Regions from separate parts of the Homo sapiens genome. Here all the other regions are linked to region 2. The links are contacts of gene promoters, found by promoter capture Hi-C in blood cells and fetal thymus (Javierre and others, 2016). All regions are on one chromosome and are shown on one strand. The core of a region is centred on a gene start or on the middle of the fragment in contact, and the rest is flanking DNA. Distances in the headings are between cores, read along the strand shown. Region 1 holds the start of LOC124902678 (a long non-coding RNA gene). Region 2 holds the start of CD5 (CD5 molecule). Region 3 overlaps CD6 (CD6 molecule).

Region 1 (3,879 bases), core at 440-2,939, 73 kb before region 2:
AAAAAAAAAGGGGGGAGTGTGTATATAAAACAAGGATTTGCAGAAACAGTGTAATTCTTGATGCTGAGTGATGGAATATGAGGTCCATGACACTATTCATTTTTACTTTTATGTTTGAACCTTTTTTGTAATAAGTTGAAAACATTTCCATTTTGAAGTTTCTGTCTTTAGTGGTATCCCAAGGGTCCCAAGCAAGGCCGACCTGGGTGGGCCCCACACTGGCTGAGTTGCTCCTGAGCCTCCCCTGCCCACGGCTCCGGCCCTCGTCCTGCTGTCTCCCACCACTACCCCTCGAGGTTGTCTGATCATCAGCTTGAGACTTTGAGGAGCCGTATCAGGGCCTGGAAGTGGAAAGGATGAGAACATTTTTAGAAACAACAAAATGGGGGTCTCCCTCCCTGGCTTTGTCTGCTTTAGTATCATCTGTAGGGAAGGGGCAGGGGCCCGGATAGGGAGGGAGCCAAAGACTGAAGCAGTGGAGGTGTTTTGAAGGGAAGGGAGGAGGGATTCATAACTAAATAACAGAGAGGAGGGCAGCTTGCACAGGATGCAAGACAGACTGGGATGGGAGAGAAGCCCAGGGGCGTGAACAGAGGGTCTGCAGAGCGGAACAAGATATTGGAAAAGGGCCTCCTGTGGCAGCGGGACATATGCAGTGAGTCAAGTTTAAACAGAGAACAGCCAGCTGTGGGGAGGAGAGAGCTAGGATTTCTGTGGTACCTACCAGCAGTCCAGTCGCACTTGGATCTTCTGGTCAAATGGTTCTGGAGGCTGCGTCCTTCCTGCTGGAATTCCTGCTCCAGACATGGAGGTGGTAGAGATGCTTACTGCTGGTGAGCCATGGGAACGAGGCCATATTCAGTGGCCCTTTTATTACTCTGTGGCCATTGGCATCATCTCAAGCTGGACAGCAAAATAGCAGGTCACCCAAAACATCTCTCCTTTTAAAATATTGTCCAATATATCTAACCTTTCTTGGCACGTCTTGGACCTAGAATTTTTTTTATTGTTATTCATTCCTTTAGTAAAGGTAATTCATCAGCCTGACTCGAGTTTCTGTTGAAGAATCCATGAGCTTCCCAGTTGGTAACTTCTGCCTTATGGCTGTCAGATCTCATCCCACAGAATCCAAGTGCTGGAATGTTCCATTGGGCAGGAGTGCAAAGGTCCTTTAGCTCCTGCATGTCAGTGACGTGGCACCTGGTCTACCATGCTCCATTCTGAGTCCAAGGCAGATATTGCCAGCGAACCACAGCACCCCCTACCACTGGATGTGGCCCCAGAATCCCGAGCAACATACAATCCCTTCAGCCACGTGTTCTAGCAACCAGCGTCGGCACTGGATTGGGAATGATTGCTATTCTTGGACAAGTCCAGTCTGTTATCCCGGAGATGGGGAAACTGAGAGCTGGGGTGTATAATTTACAGAAGGGATGCAAGGTAGGTTAGTGAAGTGCTGGGACCCGGGGCTTCTGGCTCTCAGGTAATCCTCTTCCCACCTGGGCATAGGCTTGGGGAGCTCTGAGAAGGGAAAGGTGAGAGAATGCTCAATTGCAGTCCCTGCTGCCAGCTTCCGTAGGTCACTTTCGGGGGTCTGCAGGTGCCAGAGCTGAAGTTCCTTCCTCTTTCTCCTTAAGTCCGGCTCCAGTTCTGTTGCCAGACCTGCCATCTTATGGCAGCAGGAAAGCAATATTGGAAGCTGCCAGACACAGTGGGGGCAGCCCCGGCTGGAGTGGCACCAGGAAGCAGGAGGCAGTGGTGCCGGTTAGTGCTTGACTTGTGCCCAGCTTGGCAGCCCCACAGCTTCCCCTCCTTGTTCATAACACACTGACCCTTGTAAGTTGGTGTGACACTGGCCTGTATTTAGAGTAAGGAACATCTTCTGGTCAGACTTCGACAATTGAAACCCAATGTTCTATTTCATCTTTAGGGGATTCTTGGCTGAGTTGGGAGGGTCAGACAAGGGTGCATTCAAGGACTTGTTGCCTCTCTGAGGCTCAAGAAAGACCTTGGAACTTTGAAGGCCCTGATGAGGGATGAACAACTGATGCTTTCTGGGGGCTTCACTGTATGGAGACAAAGAATGGAGCAAGGAAAACCCACCGGGAAAGCCTGGGCATTACTTGGGTCTCAACTGATTTCAAGTTGAATTCTAGCCACCAGACATCATGGTCAGGTGCTGATGCCCCATGGCCATCTTCCAAGAAGGAATGGAAGAACCAGACTCTGCCAAAGGAGCAGCCACCTTCGGGGGGCCCCTGTGATAGCACTGGGGGAGATTAGTCAAGAGCGTTTACTTTCCTCTTGGCCCTGTGGGTGTGCTGGGCGTTCCAGCAGGAGGACAAGCAAACCCCAGGGTTCCTGGTGGTGGCAGTGGCACCCACTGTGCCTCTTGGAGCTGGAGCTGGTGATGATAACCAGCTTATCTACATGGCCCTGGGCCCAGAGCAAACTCAGCTCTATTGACACCTCTTATTTTCCCGCCTCAGTTTGCACATAGCCCCAGGGCTTGCCATTCTGGGAAAGGGGTTGATAATTCATTGCTGGTAACTTGCTCCGAGTCAACAAATCAAGTGTGTGATGAGGTCATGGTGTGTAACTTGTGGCCTCGATGGCCTGGTTGACGATGGTGTGTTCAGGTGTGGACGGAAGACTGGAGATGGAAAAGTAGCCTTTTATTGAACTTGGTTACCTTGGGCCTTTGCAATTCCTGTTCTCCCTGTCCAGAAGGTTCTTCTCCCAGCTTTCTGCGTGGATGGCTATTCAGCCATCATCTCAATGTTCCCTCCTCAGTGATGCCTTCCATGGCCACTCTGGTCTCCCAGCTGTAGAGCCTGACTTGGAGGAGCCCTGGAGACACCTATTGAACGCCTTTTCCCATGTGCTCTTTGTGGGCGCCCTGTGAAGCTGATAATGTCTCCAATTTATAGATGAGGAAACTGAGGCTTAGAGGAGCTAAGTAACTTCCTCAAGGATTTATGGCAAGTAAGTGGTAGAGTCAAGATTTGAACTAGGTCTGTCTGACTACAAATTCTAGGCTCTTGGCCACTCTGCAGCTCATTAGTACTGGGCTTGGGAGGTCAGGAAATGAGGCAGAACAAAAGGAGGAGAGGACGGGTGGGAGGAGGAAGGGATAATTGAGGACAGGTCTCATCTATTAGGAAATATTCATTCTTTCAGTGAACACTTGAGGGTGCTCGAAGCCAAGTTCATAAATTGCTCGCTGTTTATGAATAGCCTTGCAGACAGGGCCATGGAGGACATTGTACAATTTGTGCCCAGAACACAGGTGTCAGGCCATGGGGGAAGAAGACCTGAAGTCAGGTCATGATTCACTGCTGAGCCATGCACCTGGGCAGCTGCAGCCACCTGGAGGAGGCCAGCTTTTTCTGAATCTAACGAAGGCTCCAAATGGGCTAGCAGTGGCCCTGAAGTCCAGGAAACAAAACATTTAGAAAGGTAATGTGGCAGCACTGCAATAGAGGCATGCCCTGGGCATCCTGCAAAGAGGATGCCCAATGCTGCCTTAGGTGGAAAGTTAGGAAGTCTCCCTAGTGGAGGTGGCAACTGAGCCGAGTCTCAGTGGATGAGAGAACTTTGCCAAATGGGCATGGGGAGGAGGGAACACCAAAGAGGGCAGCACTGGCATGATAATAGACCTAAAGGATTGTAAGTCACCTGGTAAGGTTAGATGGTAAGGGTCATGGGCCCAGTTGATGCATGATATTAGTCAGCATGGGCAGTATATGCTGCAGTAACAAGCAACACCCAATTTCACAATAAGAAGGTTTCTCTTTTGCTTTCCCTATATGTCCATTACAGGTCATCTAGGGCTCTGGTTTGAGACGTTTTCACTCAGAGATGCAGACCGATGGAGAC
Region 2 (4,483 bases), core at 1,374-3,873:
CCCGATGCCAGCCAGGAGGCTGTGGTGTCCCCAGGGCTCTGGCATTGCTGCCTCTCTCCTTGGAATGGCTCAAAGGGTGCCTGCACTGTTTGACTCCAGCAACCCTGGCCCTTGGTGTCCCCAGCTCTGGTGGCTGTATCTCTGCTGGTGGAGGTTGTGTCCCAGGGCCATTTTCCTGCACACGGAAGTGCCTTTGGTGGCCTTCCCTTTTAGCTAAGGGAGGGGCCTCTGTGAAGGCAGGAATGCTGGGCTGGGGTCAGCTCGGCTGTGCACCAGCTGCTGCACCCTGGGTTTGCACTCGGCCTTCCTGGGCCTCGCTTTTCCCCACTGTAAAATGGGGCCAATGGGCCCACCTACTTCATTGGCTGTTGTGAAGCTTGCAGCAGAAAATGGCTTTAAAAGTGCTTTGTAAACCGTTACCCACTGAACAAAGGGAATGCTTGGTACCCACCGGCTCACTCAGACACTGGGAACTGAGTATTCCTGGGGTTCAAGGAGGTCCCCATACTGGGGTGAAGGGGCTACCTCCAAGTCTTCCTGACTGTGGCCTGTGTTGGGCCAGGGGACTTGCCTGGTGCCATCAGGAGCCTCACCCATGATGGGATTCAGTTGGGAGGGCCCTAGAGCAGGACACGGGTTCCCATACTCAGCTGGGAGCCGCCCTATCTCAATGAAGTCTGAGGCCAGAGGTGAGGAGCAGGTGGGGGGTTTAAGGGCCTGGTCCCTCCTTAGCAGGGTCCCTGAAGCCAGCCAGAGGTCTGTCTCAGGCCTCTTACTTTGGGACAGAAGGCATTTTGTACCTGTTGTTGTTACATGTGAGAAGAACCATGTGAACATGTGTGCACAGGTGCCATTGTCACATGTGTTGGGGAGATAATCCTGCCTTTGGAGGCCGCATTGTGCTCATGAAAGCACACACACACAGTTCTCACACACATGCGCACAGACTCCCACACACAGACTCACACACAGACTCACACACAGACTCACACATTCCCCCCACACAGTACTCACACACATGCCCAGAGACTCACACACAGACTCACACACAGACTCACACATTCCCCCATACACAGTTCTCACACACATGAACACAGACTCACACACAGACTCACACGCACAGACTCACACTTTCCCCCCCACAAAATACTCACACACATGCCCAGAGACTCACACACAGAGTCACACATTCCCCCCCCACACACAGTACTCACACACATGCCCAGAGACTCACACACAGACTCACACACAGACTCACACATTCCCCCCCACACAGTACTCACACACATGCCCAGAGACTCACACACAGACTCACACATTCCCCCCCAGACAGTACTCACACACATGCCCAGAGACTCACACACAGACTCACACACAGACTCACACATTCCCCTACACACAGTACTCACACACATGCCCAGAGACTCACACACAGACTCACACACAGAGTCACACATTACCCCCCAACACAGTTCTCACACACGTACACACAGACTCACACAGACACACATAGACTCACACATTCCCCCACACACAGTTCTCACACACATGCACACAGACACACACACATGCATTCCCCCACACTCACACCTGCACACCCGGTTTCCCTAGAAGGCTGCTGAGGCTCCCTGCTCAGGCAGGCAAGGCCTCCGGACCCTCTCCCTGCCAGCCTGGAAGCTGCTCGCATCCTCCTGTTTCCAGCCCAGAGTCACGCACCTCTGTCACCCTGCCAGACCTTCTAAATCCTCAGGAAGTGGGTCAGGCCTCATCCAGTTCACACCCCCAACCCCCACATTTCATAAATGGGGAGATCAAGGCCTGGAGAGGCTTGGGGACCTATCCGAGGTCACACAGGGTTGGGCTTACAACCCAGGGCTGGAGTGAGAGCAGGCCCAGCGTGTACTCATCCCAGCCGGCCTGGCTGGGCCCCTCTGGGACTGACCCAGGACTGGGCATGAGAGGGCCTAGGACTTCCGCTATGAGTCCTTGACATTTGCTCAGACATCGTCCTCAGAGGCGGCTCCACCCTGCCTCGGCCCACTGTCTGTCCAGAGCATCATCAGAGCTGCCTCGGAGACGGCGAGTTTCCATGTCTCTGGAGGCGACCAAGTAAAGGCTGGGCTGTCAGTGGGGGACCTCGCAGAGGGAGGCCTGAATGCTCTGCTAAAATCCAACTCAGCCTAGGAATCAAGTTGTCTGGGCCCCATCAAATGCGGGTCCCCCCTGCAGTCTCTCTTGCACTGGAAGGGTAAAGCAGGGTTCTCAACAGCGCATGAGAGAGGCAAGGTTGTGCTCCTGGCGGGTGGGACATGCAGGACAGAGGGCCAAGCTGCGGCTTAGTGGGGGCAGGCAGGGATCCCAGTGGCCCCAAATCTCCACAACGCTCCAGAGGGCTGACATGTGGATCCCAGAGTCAGCCTTGGGTAAAACTGGGAACTCCTTCCTTGCACTGGAGCGAGCCCGGGTGTTCGCAGGACACCTGGGAGGGGTACTCACCCAGCATCCCCAGCAGGTACAAGGTGGCCAGCGGTTGCAGAGACCCCATGGGCATGGTTTCTGGCCTTCTCTTGCCTCAGCCTGGGCAGCTGGGCACCGCAGGTGAGGGTGTCTGGCCGGGTATCTCGCTCTCAGAGAGGGAGAGGGCGGGGTGGCGTGCTCAGGGAGGGGTGGGACGGGGAGCAGGCAGTGTGGGGCCTGCGTCACCCATGTTTGAAGTTGAACTGTCAACTTCCTCCTGGCAAAACCACCTGCCCCTGTTTGAATGGCAGCCCTGGCCTCTGCCAGCTTCCTGCCCAAGGTACCCAGGGCTGGGGCAGTGCTCTCGGCCACCCCCACACAGGACAAGGCCATGCATCCTGGAGGGACAGGGCTGCAGGGGGTGGGGACCCTGAGCGGGGGTTACGGAGGCTGAAGGCCTGGCTGCAGCTGAGGGCTGGGCTGAGGACAGGCGTCCCTGAGGCAGGGGTCTGGGTGGGGAGAGGCGGGAAATGGGCAGCATGATGCCAGTTCTTGTTGCAGACTCCAGTGAAAGCCAAAACCAAACCCTCCATTCCCCCTTTGTGAGGGATGAGGTTGGAAGTTTGAGCTGACTTTCCACAGGTGGTGTTTTGCTAGCAAGTACAAGAGATGGCTGCGCCATGAATGCTGGGCTTGTGCCAGTGTGTGTGTGTGTGTGTGTGTGTGTGTGTGTGTGTGTGTGTAGAGAGAGAGAGATCTCCATGTTGACTTGTGTGATCTCTGTGTTGTGTGTGTCATCTCTGTGTTGTGTGATCTCCATGTTGAGGTGTATGTGTGAGCTCCATGTTGAGTGTGTGTGATCTCCATGTTGATGTGTGTGTGAACTCCATGTTGATGTGTGTGTAATCTCCATGTTGACGTGTGTGATTTCTGTGTTGTGTGTGATCTCCATGTTGATGTGTGTGATTGTGATCGCCATGTTGATGTGTGTGTGATCTCCATGTTGATGTGTGTGTGTGATCTCCATGTTGATATGTGTGTGTGATTTCCATGTTGTGTGTTTGTGATTTCCATGTTGATGTGTGTGTATGATCTCCATGTTGACTTGTGTGATCTCTGTGTTGTGTGTGTGATCTCCATGTTGGGGTTGATGTGTGTGTAATCCCCATTTGATATATGTGTGTGTGATCTCCATGTTTGTGTGTGTGAATGTGATCTCCATGTTGATGTGTGTGAATGTGATCTCCATGTTGACGTGTGTGTGTGATCTCCATGTTGATGTGTGTGTGTGATCTCCATGTTGATGTGTGTGAATGTGATCTCCATGTTGATGTGTGTGTAATCTCCATGTTGATGTGTGTGTGTGATCTCCATGTTGATGTGTGTTTGTGATCTCCATGTTGATGTGTGTGAATGTGATCTCCATGTTGATGTGTGTGTGATCTCCATGTTGATGTGTGTGTGTGATCTCCATGTGGATGAGTGTGTGATCTCCATGTTGATGTGTGTGTAATCTCCATGTTGATGTGTGTGTGTGATCTCCATGTTGTGTGTGTGTGATCTCCATGTTGATGTGTGCGAATGTGATCTCCATGTTGATGTGTGTGTAATCTCCATGTTGATGTGTGTGTGTGATCTCCATGTTGATGTGTGTGTGTGATCTCCATGTTGATGTGTGTGAATGTGATCTCCATGTTGATGTGTGTGTAATCTCCATGTTGATGTGTGTGTGTGATCTCCATGTTGATGTGTGTGTGATCTCCATGTTGATGTGTGTGTGATCTCCATGTTGATGTGTGTGAATGTGATCTCCATGTTGATGTGTGTGTAATCTCCATGTTGATGTGTGTGTGTGATCTCCATGTTGATGTGTGTTTGTGATCTCCATGTTGATGTGTGTGAATGTGATCTCCATGTTGATGTGTGTGTGTGATCTCCATGTTGATGTGTGTTTGTGATCTCCATGTTGATGTGTGTGAATGTGATCTCCATGTTGATGTGTGTGTAATCTCCATGTTGATGTGTG
Region 3 (4,103 bases), core at 181-2,680, 120 kb after region 2:
GAGTGCTGCACTGGAGGACGTGATCCTTGTACTGCCTGCCTAACACTTGTAAATGTACATTTTGTGGCGCACCTTCCGTGGGCCAGTCCCTGTGCTTGGCGCTCATTGAATCCTCATGGCACACCAGTCTGGGTCAGGAGGCAGAAAAGAGCCTGGACCTCAGCTCCTTTGGGAATTTCAGTCCTGCCTACCCAACATGACCCAACAGGACCAGCCGGACTGGCTGGTCAGCACCTCCCCTCAGCCGGGCCCTCGTAGGCTGTCCCACCTCCAGGTTTCTGCTCAAATGGGTCTTTCTTTCAATTTAATTAATTAATTAATTATTTTGAAACAGAGTCTCACTCTGTTGCATAGGCTGAAGTGCAGTGGTGCGATCTTGGGTCACTGTAACTTCCGCCTCCCGGTTTCAAGCGATTCTCTTCCCTCAGCCTTGCGGGTAGCTGGGATTACAGGTGCCCCCCATCCCCCGAACCACACCCGGCTAATTTTTGTATTTCTTTACTAGGGACGGGGTTTCGCCATATTGGCCAGGCTGGTCTCGGACTCCTGACCTCAAGTGATCCGCCCTACTTGACCTCCCAAAGTGTTGGGATTACAGGCGTGAGCCACTGCACCCGGCCTTCAAATGGGTCCTTCTTTCTGAAATACTTTTTTTTTTCTTTTTTGAGACAAGGTCTTGCTCCGTTGTCCAGGCTGGAGTGCAGTGGTGAGATCATGGCTCACTGCAGCCTCAACCTCCTGGGCTCAAGTCATTCTCTGCCTCAGCCTCCCGAGTAGCTGGGACTACAGGCATGAATCTCACATCCGGCTAACTTTTTAATTTTTTGTAAACGTGGGGGTCACACTATGTTGCCTATGCTGCTCTGGAACTCTTGGACTTCGGCCTCCCAACGTGCTGAATTACAGGTGTGAGTCACCAGAAAGGGCTGAAATCCTTTTTTCCCCCTTAACTTCTTATTTTCAAACTATGGACTCATAAGAAGTTGCCAAAATAGTGAAGAGAAATCCTGTGTACCCATCAGTCAGCTTCCCCCAGTGGTGACATATCATGACATGGATTTAAATTCAGCATTAGCCACCAACCTGGGACAAAATACATAACTTTCTGAGCCTCAGTTTCTCCACCCATAAAAAAGGGGTGATTGTCCTGGTGTTGTCAGGGTGGAACAGCATATGCATAGCTGGTGCTTGGAGAATATTAAGTCCCTGGTAATGGGTGGTGGTTGCAGCTGTCACTGGATTGTGCCTGTTGCCACACCTATCCCGGGGTGGTGCTGGTGTGTCTTACCACAACACTATAAACTGTTCAAGGGCAAACCTTCATGTCCTATGGCAGTGCCAGCACAGGGCCTGGTACTCAGCAGGTACTGAATGAATATGAAAATATGGAGCCTAGGCCAGGCACAGTGGCTCACACCTGTAATCCCAGCACTTTGGGAGGCTGAGGCGGGCGGGTGGATCACCTGAGGTCAGGAATTCAAGACCAGCCTTGCCAAAATGGTGAAACCCCGTCTCTACTAAAAATACAAAAAAATTAGCTGGGCATGGTGGTGGGTGCCTATGGTCCCCTTACTCGGGAGGCTGAGGCAGGAGAATTGCTTGAACCTGGGAGGCGGAGGTTGCAGTGAGCTGAGATCGCAGCATTGCACTCCAGCTTGGGTAACAGACTGAGACTCCGTCTCAAAAAGAAAAAAAAAAAAAAGAAAACAAAACAAAATATGGAGCCTGCTGCCCAGCAAGCTCTCCCCTGGCTCATGGTGCCTCTTTAATTTTGCCTTCCTGCTGGCCCCAAGGTGCAGGGCAACCCCCAGGCAAACCCCATGAGGGCGTGCCATGATGAGGGAGGCAGCCACACTTGACCCCATCTGTTGCTAAGAAGACTTCCAGGGTCCCTAGGACCTCAGAGGTCCCTCAGGGCTGTTCCTAGATTCAGTGGTGAGGCTGCAAGGCTAGGAGTTTGCATTTAGGGGAGAAACCCTATGCTAGAATAGAGCCCACAGGACAGCTGGCTGGAAACAAGCCAGGCAACTCCCACACAATGGAAAAAGCACCAGCCTGCTGGCTGGGAGACCCAAGCTCAGGTCCTGACAAGTCTCTTAGCCTCGCTAAACCTCAGTTTCCTCATCTATAAAATGAGGTCACCATGTGGGTGATGGAGCTCATTGTGCAAACAGCACTATGTTAACCACCGAGTCCTGTATTCACATAGGCAAGGGATTATCTTTGGTCTTGCTGTAGAGCATTTATAAGCTAACATTTCTGAGCACTGCATTTTGTTCGGCTATTTTCAGATGCATCATCTACATTAACTTGTACACTTTGGTGAGTTGGGGATTTTTATCTCTAGCATGCAGGCAAAGAAACCACCCTGGGGCCATGCAGAGATGCAATTCAGAACCCGCGTCTGCCTGACTCCGGGGTCCATGATTCTATACGACAGGATGCCGGCTGGGGTTGATACAGTGCCCTTCCTAGGGCTAAGTGTCTAGTGGCTGGGTCTCTGCTGCGTACAGCCAGATGCCCTGCTCCATAACCTGTAAAGCCTCAAGGAACATACATAAAGTACAAGCATGTTTAGGCTGGGTCCTTAGTGTTCAATTTACCCAGTTTTCCAGAAAGGAAACTAGGGCCAGAGAAAGGAAGGAACTTGACCAAGATTCCCCAGCAAGTTAGGACCAGAGCTAGTTCTCAAAGTCCACACCCACCTCACCCCTCCTCAAGGTTCCTTCTCCTCCCCAGGCTGCAGGGGCCTAGATTCCCAGAGCGGAATCAAGGGAGGTGAACTCGGGTGCCCCCCAACCTCAGGGCTCACTGGGAAAATCCAGGGACTTCTCAGGGTACTGGGGAGCCCCTGAAATGGGGGTCTCATGTGTAGGACGTAACCCCAGGCTGCAGAGCAGTCAGCGTCCCCAGGCTCAGTCTTGTCAGGGGACACCATGCCCACCCCCTTTGTCCTTTCTCTGGATCAGTGTTTTCAAAGTCTAGGGCACATACACAAAACTATGCAAAATTGATTTAGGTGGTCATTGACTTGGCATTATATACCACTATATTACATGATGAGGAAGTTATGCATACTCTTTATTTCCCTTTCAGCCTTTCTAATTACAGACTTGGAGGAGGAAATCTCCCATGGGGTTAGTCTTTAAAGTCTCTCTGACATCTACAGCCCTCCCTTTTGAGGAAAGGGAAAGCAGCAAATGCATCTGGCTAGAATTTAGTAACATTGTTTTATTTCCATTATGTTTATTTTCACCATTATAATCATGATGGTGATTTATAATGAATGGCTTTCCATTTAAGGGAGTGATATATAAAGTTTCTTCTCAAAATAAATGTATTTGCATTTTAAAACATCAATTAAGAAAGAGTAGCCAGGCATGGTGTCAGGCGCCTGTAATCCCAGCTATTTGGGAGGCTGAGGTGGGAGGATCCCTTGAGCCCAGGAGTTTGAAGCTGCAGTGAGCTGCACCACTGCATTCTAGCCTGGGCGACAGAGCGAGACTCCATCTAAAAAAAAAGAAAAGAAAGAAAGAAAAAGGAGGGAAATTACGTTAAGTAAATTGTCAGGTGGATGACACCTTGGCCAACACTGGGAAGGTGGGCTGGAATAAAGTGCTCCGGGAAGAGCTATGCTGGATAACTTACCATGCTCTGAGTCTGGAGAAGGGCCAGTGCCGAGGACAGGATGGAGGGCCTGGAGGTCTTGCTAGCTGAGGAAGTAGATACAGCCTGGGGATCCCAGCCCTACCAGGGGGCTGCTCAGGGCAGGCCTGAGCACATGGCATGGATGTTAAAGCTCATGGTGTCCCATCTGTGGTCCAGGCAGGGAGAGGATGGCCACGCACCTGGGAGGTCTACACTCCAAGCTCCTGTCCTAAAGGACAGTTGGGGCCACCTGTTTATTCCTCCTTGCCCCAGGGAGAAGTCTGATTCCTTAACTCAGAATCTAACAGCTGGGTACTGAATTTAATTCTTGAGTGTTCTATAAATATAATAAATAAAGCCTTAATAAATGTGGTCTGAATGAGGAGGGCCATGGGCAGCATTTCTCACTCATTCTAGATCCCTCTGTAAAGTTCGAGCTCCAGCACCCTAGGAGC

The links. The method cuts DNA at HindIII sites, captures the fragments that hold promoters and counts their contacts. A CHiCAGO score of 5 or more calls a contact.
Region 1: a contact is called between a fragment that was not itself captured here and the fragment with the promoter of CD5 in region 2, in 4 of 17 cell types (non-activated CD4 T cells, activated CD4 T cells, naive CD4 T cells and 1 more). The highest score is 6.3, in non-activated CD4 T cells.
Region 3: a contact is called between a fragment that was not itself captured here and the fragment with the promoter of CD5 in region 2, in 7 of 17 cell types (non-activated CD4 T cells, naive CD4 T cells, activated CD4 T cells and 4 more). The highest score is 31.5, in non-activated CD4 T cells.

What each region holds. Positions count from the first base shown.
Region 1 is chr11:61,173,013-61,176,891 of GRCh38, reverse strand. LOC124902678 (a long non-coding RNA gene) reads right to left here and starts at 2,053. Exons shown (of 4, transcript XR_007062691.1): 1 at 725-2,053. The HindIII fragment of the contact is 5,976 bases long and covers 1-3,879 here.
Region 2 is chr11:61,100,629-61,105,111 of GRCh38, reverse strand. CD5 (CD5 molecule) reads right to left here and starts at 2,623. Exons shown (of 11, transcript NM_014207.4): 1 at 2,497-2,623. The coding sequence starts at 2,551. The HindIII fragment of the contact is 6,487 bases long and covers 379-4,483 here.
Region 3 is chr11:60,977,064-60,981,166 of GRCh38, reverse strand. The region is part of intron 1 of CD6 (CD6 molecule); the gene reads right to left. Among named protein-coding and RNA genes, the nearest start is that of CD6, 7.4 kb to the right of the region's middle. The HindIII fragment of the contact is 9,705 bases long and covers 1-4,103 here.